Regions from separate parts of the Homo sapiens genome. Here all the other regions are linked to region 1. Evidence: promoter capture Hi-C in human tissues and cell types (Jung and others, 2019). All regions are on one chromosome and are shown on one strand. Each heading gives the region's core, a stretch centred on a gene start or on the middle of the fragment in contact. The rest is flanking DNA. Distances are from core to core; before and after follow the strand shown. Region 1 has its middle 11 kb from the start of FBXW5. Region 2 holds the start of ANAPC2 (anaphase promoting complex subunit 2). Region 3 holds the start of LRRC26 (leucine rich repeat containing 26).

Evidence for each region. Contacts are between HindIII fragments. The study calls those that stand out against the background at their distance.
Region 2: the fragment with the promoter of ANAPC2 here is called in contact with a fragment that was not itself captured in region 1 in 12 of the 25 tissues and cell types used here (H1 embryonic stem cells, IMR-90 fibroblasts, dorsolateral prefrontal cortex and 9 more).
Region 3: the fragment with the promoter of LRRC26 here is called in contact with a fragment that was not itself captured in region 1 in 3 of the 25 tissues and cell types used here (H1 embryonic stem cells, dorsolateral prefrontal cortex and mesenchymal stem cells).

Annotation. Positions count from the first base shown.
Region 1 is chr9:136,932,670-136,935,400 of GRCh38, reverse strand. No RefSeq gene overlaps it. Among named protein-coding and RNA genes, the nearest start is that of FBXW5, 11 kb to the left of the region's middle. The HindIII fragment of the contact is 7,838 bases long and covers 1-2,731 here.
Region 2 is chr9:137,187,220-137,189,950 of GRCh38, reverse strand. It overlaps ANAPC2 (anaphase promoting complex subunit 2), which reads left to right and starts at 1,391. Exons shown (of 13, transcript NM_013366.4): 1 at 1,391-1,535; 2 at 1,848-2,470. The coding sequence starts at 1,419. It overlaps SSNA1 (SS nuclear autoantigen 1), which reads right to left and starts at 1,275. Exons shown (of 3, transcript NM_003731.3): 1 at 1,173-1,275; 2 at 686-885; 3 at 1-144. The coding sequence starts at 1,224. The coding sequence ends at 37. RefSeq lists a silencer at 884-1,233 and an enhancer at 1,264-1,483. The HindIII fragment of the contact is 18,290 bases long and covers 1-2,731 here.
Region 3 is chr9:137,168,689-137,171,419 of GRCh38, reverse strand. LRRC26 (leucine rich repeat containing 26) reads left to right here and starts at 1,369. Exons shown (of 2, transcript NM_001013653.3): 1 at 1,369-2,149; 2 at 2,235-2,662. The coding sequence starts at 1,477. The coding sequence ends at 2,566. TMEM210 (transmembrane protein 210) reads left to right here. Exons shown (of 4, transcript NM_001282477.2): 3 at 1-6; 4 at 256-562. The coding sequence ends at 445. MIR3621 (microRNA 3621) reads left to right here and starts at 2,150; the gene lies at 2,150-2,234. It overlaps GRIN1 (glutamate ionotropic receptor NMDA type subunit 1), which reads right to left. Exons shown (of 20, transcript NM_007327.4): 20 at 2,664-2,731. RefSeq lists silencers at 1,657-1,716, 1,877-2,396, 2,637-2,731. The HindIII fragment of the contact is 5,034 bases long and covers 1-1,572 here.

The DNA of each region.
Region 1 (2,731 bases), core at 82-2,581:
GAATGGCGTGAACCCAGGAGGCGGAGCTTGCAGTGAGCCGAGATCGCGCCACTGCACTCCAGCCTGGGCGACAGAGCAAGACTCCATCTCAAAAAAAAAAAAAAAAAAAAAGACAGGTTCTCACTCTGTTGCCCAGCCTTGAGTCACCAGTACAGTCATGACTTACTGCAGCTTCGACCTTCAGGCTCAAGTGATCCTCCCACCTCAGCCTCTCAAGTAGCTGGGACCACAGGCATGCACCACCACACCCAGCTAATTTTTATATTTTTTGTAGAGATGGGGTTTTGCCATGTTGTCCAGGCTGGTTTTGAACTCCTAGGCTGAAGTGATCCGCCTGCCTCGGCTTCCGTAAGTGCTGGGATTACGGCGTGAGCCACCATACTGGGCTGCAGCCTCTTTTTAAGGGCACGAATCCCATCCACAAGTGTTGCACCCTCATGATCTAAAAAGTCCTGCCTCCAAGTACCATCACATTGGAGATTATGTTTCAACACAGGAAATTGGGTGGGGGGGGCACAAACATTGTCTTCTCTTAGTCTGTTTTTGCTGCTATAACCGAATACCTGAGACCAGATAATTTATAAGGAATAGAAATTTATTGGCTCACAGTTCTGGGGGCTGGGAAGTCCCAGAGTAAGGTGCCAGCGTCTGGTGCAATCCTTCTTGTTGTGTCACTGTGGAAGGTGGAAGGGCAAGAGAGGGCCAAGCTCATCTTATTATACCAGCACCAATTCCAGCCTATCTTCCCTCTGACCTAATCACCCTTTAAGGATCCCACCTCTTAACACTGTTACAATGACAATTAAATATTAACATGAGTTTGGGAGATAAAAACATTCAAACCGTAGCATTCCATCCCTGCCCCTACACCAATTCATGTTCTTTTCACATACAAAATATACTCATTCCATCCCAATGGCCCCATTCAAAAGTCCAAAGCCCAGAGTCTCGTCTAAATCAAACATGGGTGAGACTCAAGGCATGATTCATCCTGAGGCAACTTTCCCTCCACTATGAGCCTGTGAAATTAAACAAGTTACGTGCTTCCAAAATACAATGGTAGGGCAGGCATAGAACAGACATTTCCATTCCAAAGGGATAAATTATAAAGAGGAAAGGAATAACAGGCCTCAAAAGCATGTCCAAAGTCCAACAGGGAGAATACTACTAAATCCTAAGGCTTGAGAATCATCATCTTTGACTCCAAATCCTGCCTTCTGCACGCCGTGGGGTGCGGCTGGGTCCTCAGGCTCTTGGGAACCTCACCCCTAGAGCTTTGCTGGGCTCAGACCTCACACAACTCTCTTAGGTTGGAGTCTCGTGCCTTCAGCTCTCCCAGGCTGGCAATGAACACTAGAGGCTCTCCAGTTCTGGGGTCTCAGGGGTGGCCTTATCCCCAAGGCTCTACCACATATTGCCCTAGTGTGGGCTCTCTGCCATGGCTCTGGCCTGGAGACTTGTGACATCCTGTGTGACACCCAGTGGATGAAGCCATGTCCCCACAGCTCCTGCAAGGCTGCAGAATCGACACCACCAAGGCTTATGACTTGTACCTTCCCTGGGTCCACATGAGACAGGCTGGAGTGGCTTAGGGGGTCTGCACTGGAATGCAGACAGCCAAGACTTGGGGTGGCCCTGGCCAGCAGGCTCTAAGGTCCACACCCTACACCTCTCTTTTGACATATTTCCTTCCCAAAGGCCTTGGCACTCTGGGCCTGTGGTGGGAGGGGCAGCACCAGGAATCTGAAATGCCTCTGGGGCCATTTTCCCACTGTCCTGATGAGCAGCCTCTGGCTTCGTTCTGTCCATACTAAGTTGCTTGGCCACACACTTGGTCTGTTCTCCTAAAGACATCTTATTTACTCCCTAAATGGGCAGGCTGAAAATCCTTACGATCCCTATTCTTTCCTTGTTAATTATAAATTCCATCTTTAATTCATTTCTCTTCTCACATCTTACTCTCTGCAGTTAGAAGAAAACATGCCACACCCTGAGTATTTCTTCAGCCAGATATCCCAGTTCCTTCCACAAAGGAAGGACTGGGCATGGACACCGTTCAGCCACGTTCTCTGCCACTTTATAACTAGGATGGTCATTCCTCCAGTTTCTGACACCTTGTTCTTCATTTCTGTCTGAGATCTTACCAGAATGGCCTTCACTGTCCAGATTTCTACCAACATTCTGACCATGACCACTTTAAGTATTCTCAAAGAAGCTTCAGACTTTCCCTACAGTTCTCTTCTGAGCCCTCAACAAAATCACCCTTTACACTCCATGAATGGCATCTAAGCTTCTTCTCGCTCCTCCAAACTCTTCTGGCCTCTGCCTACTACCCAGTTCCAAAGCTGCTTCCACATTTTTCGAGCATTTGTGATGACAACAAACCCACTCCTGGTCTCGATTTTCTGCCCACAGCACCCTGATACCAAAAACCAGACAAAGACAATACAAAAGACAATTATAGACAAATGTCCTTCATGAACAGAGATGCAAAATCCTCAAAAAAAATTTAAATCAAATCCAGCAATATATAAAAGTGATAGTGCACCATAACCAGGTAGGGTTTATTCCAGGAATGCAAGGTTGGTCCAATATTTGAAGATCAACATAAGTCACCATATTAACTGTACAGGAGAAAAACCACATGAACATATCACTTGGTATAGAAAAAGCATCTTTTTTTTTTTTTTTTTGGAAGACAGTTTCCTTGTTGCCCAGGTTAGAGTGCAAT
Region 2 (2,731 bases), core at 142-2,641, 250 kb before region 1:
AGGGGCACACGGAGGCAGGCCCTGCCCGTGGTCTGGTCAGCTGTCCCTGCCGCCGCTACTTTTCTGGTCTGGGGCTGTAGCCTTGGTCAGGTTCCCAGCTTCCCTCTTGAGAACGCTGAGCAAAGTCTGGGAGCTCTCCAGGATCTGGGGCCAGAGAAGTGAGAAGGTTGTTAATGTTCACCTGTTGGTAAGGTCCTAAGCCCCAGCTGTCCTCACACTCAGGTGCTGGGACCTGGCTGGGGGTGCTGTAGCCAAGGGATCCTGTGTGGGGGAAGGCGGAAGCCCAAGGGGACTGGCAGACGGGGTGGCAGGGCCCTCTTCCCTCCGGAATCTGACCCAAAACACTTCCTCTCCACCCTCAAAGCCAGGCTGGGTTAGCACTGGCCCGTGCTGGGTGCTCTGCCCAAGACCTGGCTCTTCACACTGAGCAGAAATAACCACATGGCTAGCGAGAACCGGATAAAGACCAGGACCCAGGATGCCCCAGGCCCCACAGACAGCCCCACAGTCACTCCCACAGCAGCCTGGGTTCCTCAATGGGCCTGGCCACGCTGCCCCTGCCCGAAATGCCAGCGAGGCACAGACTGCCCACAGCCGGGAGCCCCAGCCGGTCCTGACGCCTTGCCGTGGCAACACCCCTGCCGTGCCTATCCCCTGATGCTCGGCCTGGCCTCCCGAGCTCCACCTTGAGGTAGGCGGCCTCCGTCTCCGCGATGGTCCGGTCGAACTCGTTGCGAGAGGCAATCTTGCGTGCCAGGTTCTCGTTGACGCGGGCCAGCTTCTCTGTCAGCTGCCTCACCTCATTCTGCAGCCGCTGCTTCTCGTCCTCCTCCTCCTGGATCTGCCGGCACAGCTCCTCCCGCTTCTGGCACAGCTCCTCTATGCCTGGGGGCCGGGAGGGGCGGCGCTGTGGGCCCAGGGCAGGAGCGCGGCGGCGGAGGGCGGGCCTCCTTCCACCCGAGGAAGCCAGAGTCAGGCACCACCCCCGAGCGCCCGGCGCGGGGCCTGCGAGCCAGCGAGGGCTCGGGCCACGGACACCCGGCCTCCGGCACGGAGGGCTCTGCTCAGCCGCGCGATGCCCGCAGCGAGGCGGGTCCAGGGGCACCCCGCTGCGAGCCGGGAACCCGGCCCTGCGGCCCTCCCGACCTCCCCGTCCCGGCTGCGCCGCTCACACTTGACCAGCTCGTTGTTGTAGTTCTGCAGCGCCGCGCCCTGCTGGGTCATGGTCAACGCCGCCCGGGGCCCCACCACCCCAACCGCCGCGGAAGCAGCGCTGTCCGCGCCTGCGCACGACTCCCCCACGGCGCGCCGAACTAGCGCGTCATCGCTGAGCGCCTTGTGCGCGTCATGGCTGCGCGTGCAGACGTGCGTCATCGCCGCGCGCCGCGCCGAGCGAATCTCGGAGTCGGTGGGTGCAGATGGCGGCGGCAGTTGTGGTGGCGGAGGGGGACAGCGACTCCCGGCCCGGACAGGAGTTGTTAGTGGCCTGGAACACCGTGAGCACCGGCCTGGTGCCGCCGGCTGCGCTGGGGCTGGTGAGGCCTGGGAAGAGAGGGGCGGCCCCGCGCGGAGTTTCCGGGACCGTACGCGCTTTGGGGCCGCTACCCTCGGGTTCATACGGCTCTGTCCATCATCCGCCTCTGTCCTGTCCTGCCATTTTCCACCACCTTTCCGTTTCGTTTCGTTCAGCTCCGCTGACAGCCCTTCCATAGCTTCGGCCCAACGTCCGGGCAGCACGGACAGGGGGCAGCGGAGTTTTTGCAGCCTCCCCCTCAGCTTCTTCCCTTCCCCGCCTCTCCCCACCTCTATGTTGTGTTCCCCTCGCCTCACGGTTTTCTGCACCCCAGGTGTCTTCCCGGACCAGCGGTGCAGTCCCGCCAAAGGAAGAGGAGCTCCGGGCGGCGGTGGAGGTTCTGAGGGGCCACGGGCTACACTCGGTCCTGGAGGAGTGGTTCGTGGAGGTGCTGCAGAACGATCTGCAGGCCAACATCTCCCCTGAGTTCTGGAATGCCATCTCCCAATGCGAGAACTCTGCGGATGAGCCCCAGTGCCTTTTGCTACTCCTTGACGCTTTTGGCCTGCTGGAGAGCCGCCTGGATCCCTACCTGCGTAGCCTAGAGCTGCTGGAGAAATGGACTCGCCTGGGCTTGCTGATGGGCACTGGTGCTCAGGGGCTGCGAGAAGAAGTCCACACTATGTTGCGCGGAGTCTTGTTCTTTAGCACCCCCAGAACCTTCCAAGAGATGATCCAGCGTCTGTATGGGTGCTTCTTGAGAGTCTATATGCAGAGTAAGAGGAAGGGGGAAGGGGGCACAGACCCGGAACTGGAAGGGGAGCTGGACAGCCGGTATGCCCGTCGCCGGTACTACCGGCTCCTGCAGAGCCCGCTGTGTGCAGGGTGCAGCAGTGACAAGCAACAGTGCTGGTGTCGCCAGGCTCTGGAGCAGTTCCATCAGCTCAGCCAGGTCTTGTGAGTAGTCTGTCCCGATGGCCATGCCCTTGCTCCTTCTGGTTCCCCGCTGCTCCCCTGGGTCCAGCTGGCCTCAGCAGAAAGCTGGTGAGCCGTCCTGATAACCAGGAACATGACAGAGAGAGAGTCCCAGGGATTCCTGTGCAGCGTGTCCTGGACACAGGTGTCTCTCTTCTGTCACTCACCTTCAGTCCCACAGATTCATGCCTTGACCCTGGTAAGGCCCTATGTGGCTTGTGTCTGCAGCAGCAAATTTCTTAG
Region 3 (2,731 bases), core at 120-2,619, 240 kb before region 1:
CAACAGGTGAGCACCAGGGAGGCCCTCGAGGGAGGCACGCTGTCTCAGGGGAGGCCCTTGGCGGGGGGAGCTATCCCAGGGGAGTCCCTGGAGGAGGAGGGGTGCTGTCCCTGGAGGAGGAGGGGTGCTGTCCCTGGAAGAGGAGGTGTGCTGTCCCAAGGGAGGCCCTTTGTGGGGGTGCACTGTCCCAGACGCCAGCCTGTCCTGGGGGAACAAGGACTCTACCAGCTCGTGATGACCCGGCCCGTCATGCAGGTTGGTGGAGAATTTTGGGGTCCAGGAAGATCTCATGGACCTGCACCCGGTTTACGTGGAGTCCCAGCTAATGGACGCTGACCTGGAGGTCTCCCTGGTGCCACCACTAGAGGATCAGAGCCTTGTGGCCATCCCCATGGAGGCTTCTTCAGAGGAGCCGCCACCACCCCCGCCCCTACCACCTGAGTAGAGGGCTGAGGGCAGCTGGGGGAGGGGAATTAAAGCGTATTTAGTGGCTGTGCACTGTCCTCCCTGCAGGCCCTCCTGAGGGCAGCTGGGGGAGGGGAATTAAAGCTTGTTTAGTGGTTGTGCACCGTCCTCCCTGCAGGCCCTCACACCCCTCACGGCTGCATCATGGGGGGTGCACGCGCATATGGGTCTCATCAAAGCAGAGTGCCCAGGCCCCACAGCAAGTTCCCCTGTTCCTCTGCCCCCTGGCAGTAAGCCATACCCCTAATGTTTCCACCTTCTCTGCCACAGCTGGTCAGCCCGGCTCCTTCCTGCACCCAGCTTTGGAAAGCCCCTAGAACAGGACCTGCAACTGGCAACTGTGAAGGGCGCTGGGTTTAACAGCAGGACTTGGGCTGATACCCCTGCCCCACTGCACTGGTCTGTACCTCTATCCCAGGAGAGTCCTGGGGGGGAGGGGTGGGGCAGGCACGCCTCTCCTGCCTCGGGTGTGCTGTCTCCCTCCACCCCAAGGCCTGTCTCCAACCCAGGCCCTATCCAGCATGGGAATGGGACCATCCCTGCGTGGGGGCCACTCCGCATGTGCACGTTGGGATCACTTTGCGGAGCCTGGGTGGGGTCGAGACGGGTGAGGAGCAGGACCTCTGGGTTGCATTGCGTGTGGGCGCCTGTTGCAGCCGTGAGCTGGGCGGGTGCAGGTGGGCGGTGTCCTGCTGCTCAGGTCAGGGCTCGGCGGGCGCCCGGTGGTGGACAAGGCGGGGTGAGGTGGTCTTGATAGCGCTGTGGCCGGCGCTGAGCCAAGAGTAGTTTGGAGCTCCCGGACAGGTGGCTGGCGGTGCCGGGCGTTGGCTGTTTGCCCTGCCCCCGCCCCAAGCGTGGATCCAGCCGTGGGACAGGAACTGCCTGAGCTCGGGCCAGAGAGTTAATATTTGTGCAGGCGCCGCAGGAACGGGCTCCGCGGACGACGGGCTCCAGGGACGCACAGGCAGCGGGCCTCCCACCGCGGGTGCCGGGGGCGGGGGGGCTGCCCCCATGCGGGGCCCTTCCTGGTCGCGGCCTCGGCCGCTGCTGCTGCTGTTGCTGCTGCTGTCGCCTTGGCCTGTCTGGGCCCAGGTGTCGGCCACGGCCTCGCCCTCGGGGTCCCTGGGCGCCCCGGACTGCCCCGAGGTGTGCACGTGCGTGCCGGGAGGCCTGGCCAGCTGCTCGGCACTCTCGCTGCCCGCCGTGCCCCCGGGCCTGAGCCTGCGCCTGCGCGCGCTGCTGCTGGACCACAACCGCGTCCGTGCGCTGCCGCCAGGTGCCTTCGCGGGAGCGGGCGCGCTACAGCGCCTGGACCTGCGCGAGAACGGGCTGCACTCGGTGCATGTGCGAGCCTTCTGGGGCCTGGGCGCGCTGCAGCTGCTGGACCTGAGCGCCAACCAGCTGGAAGCACTGGCACCAGGGACTTTCGCGCCGCTGCGCGCGCTGCGCAACCTCTCATTGGCCGGCAACCGGCTGGCGCGCCTGGAGCCCGCGGCGCTAGGCGCGCTCCCGCTGCTGCGCTCACTCAGCCTGCAGGACAACGAGCTGGCGGCACTCGCGCCGGGGCTGCTGGGCCGCCTGCCCGCTCTAGACGCGCTGCACCTGCGCGGCAACCCTTGGGGCTGCGGGTGCGCGCTGCGCCCGCTCTGCGCCTGGCTGCGCCGGCACCCGCTGCCCGCGTCAGGTGAGCTGCTGGGGACGCGGGTCGGGGTCTGCAGGGCGGTGCGGCAGCCGCCACCTGACGCCGCGCCTTTGTCTGTGTCCCACAGAGGCCGAGACGGTGCTCTGCGTGTGGCCGGGACGCCTGACGCTCAGCCCCCTGACTGCCTTTTCCGACGCCGCCTTTAGCCATTGCGCGCAGCCGCTCGCCCTGCGGGACCTGGCCGTGGTTTACACGCTCGGGCCGGCCTCCTTCCTCGTCAGCCTGGCTTCCTGCCTGGCGCTGGGCTCTGGGCTCACCGCCTGCCGTGCGCGCCGCCGCCGCCTCCGCACCGCCGCCCTCCGCCCGCCGAGACCGCCAGACCCGAACCCCGATCCCGACCCCCACGGCTGTGCCTCGCCCGCGGACCCGGGGAGCCCCGCCGCTGCCGCCCAAGCCTGAGCGGCCGCGGCCGCCTGGAGCGCTCGAAGCTTCCCCCATGCCTTTGCCCTCCCTTTACACTGTCTGCCGGCGTCAACAAGCGACACAGACCGAAAACTGCGTGACATTCCTTTAGGCATCACCACTGCATACACCGGGAGGTGGGGGTTGGGCGGTGCGCGCCTG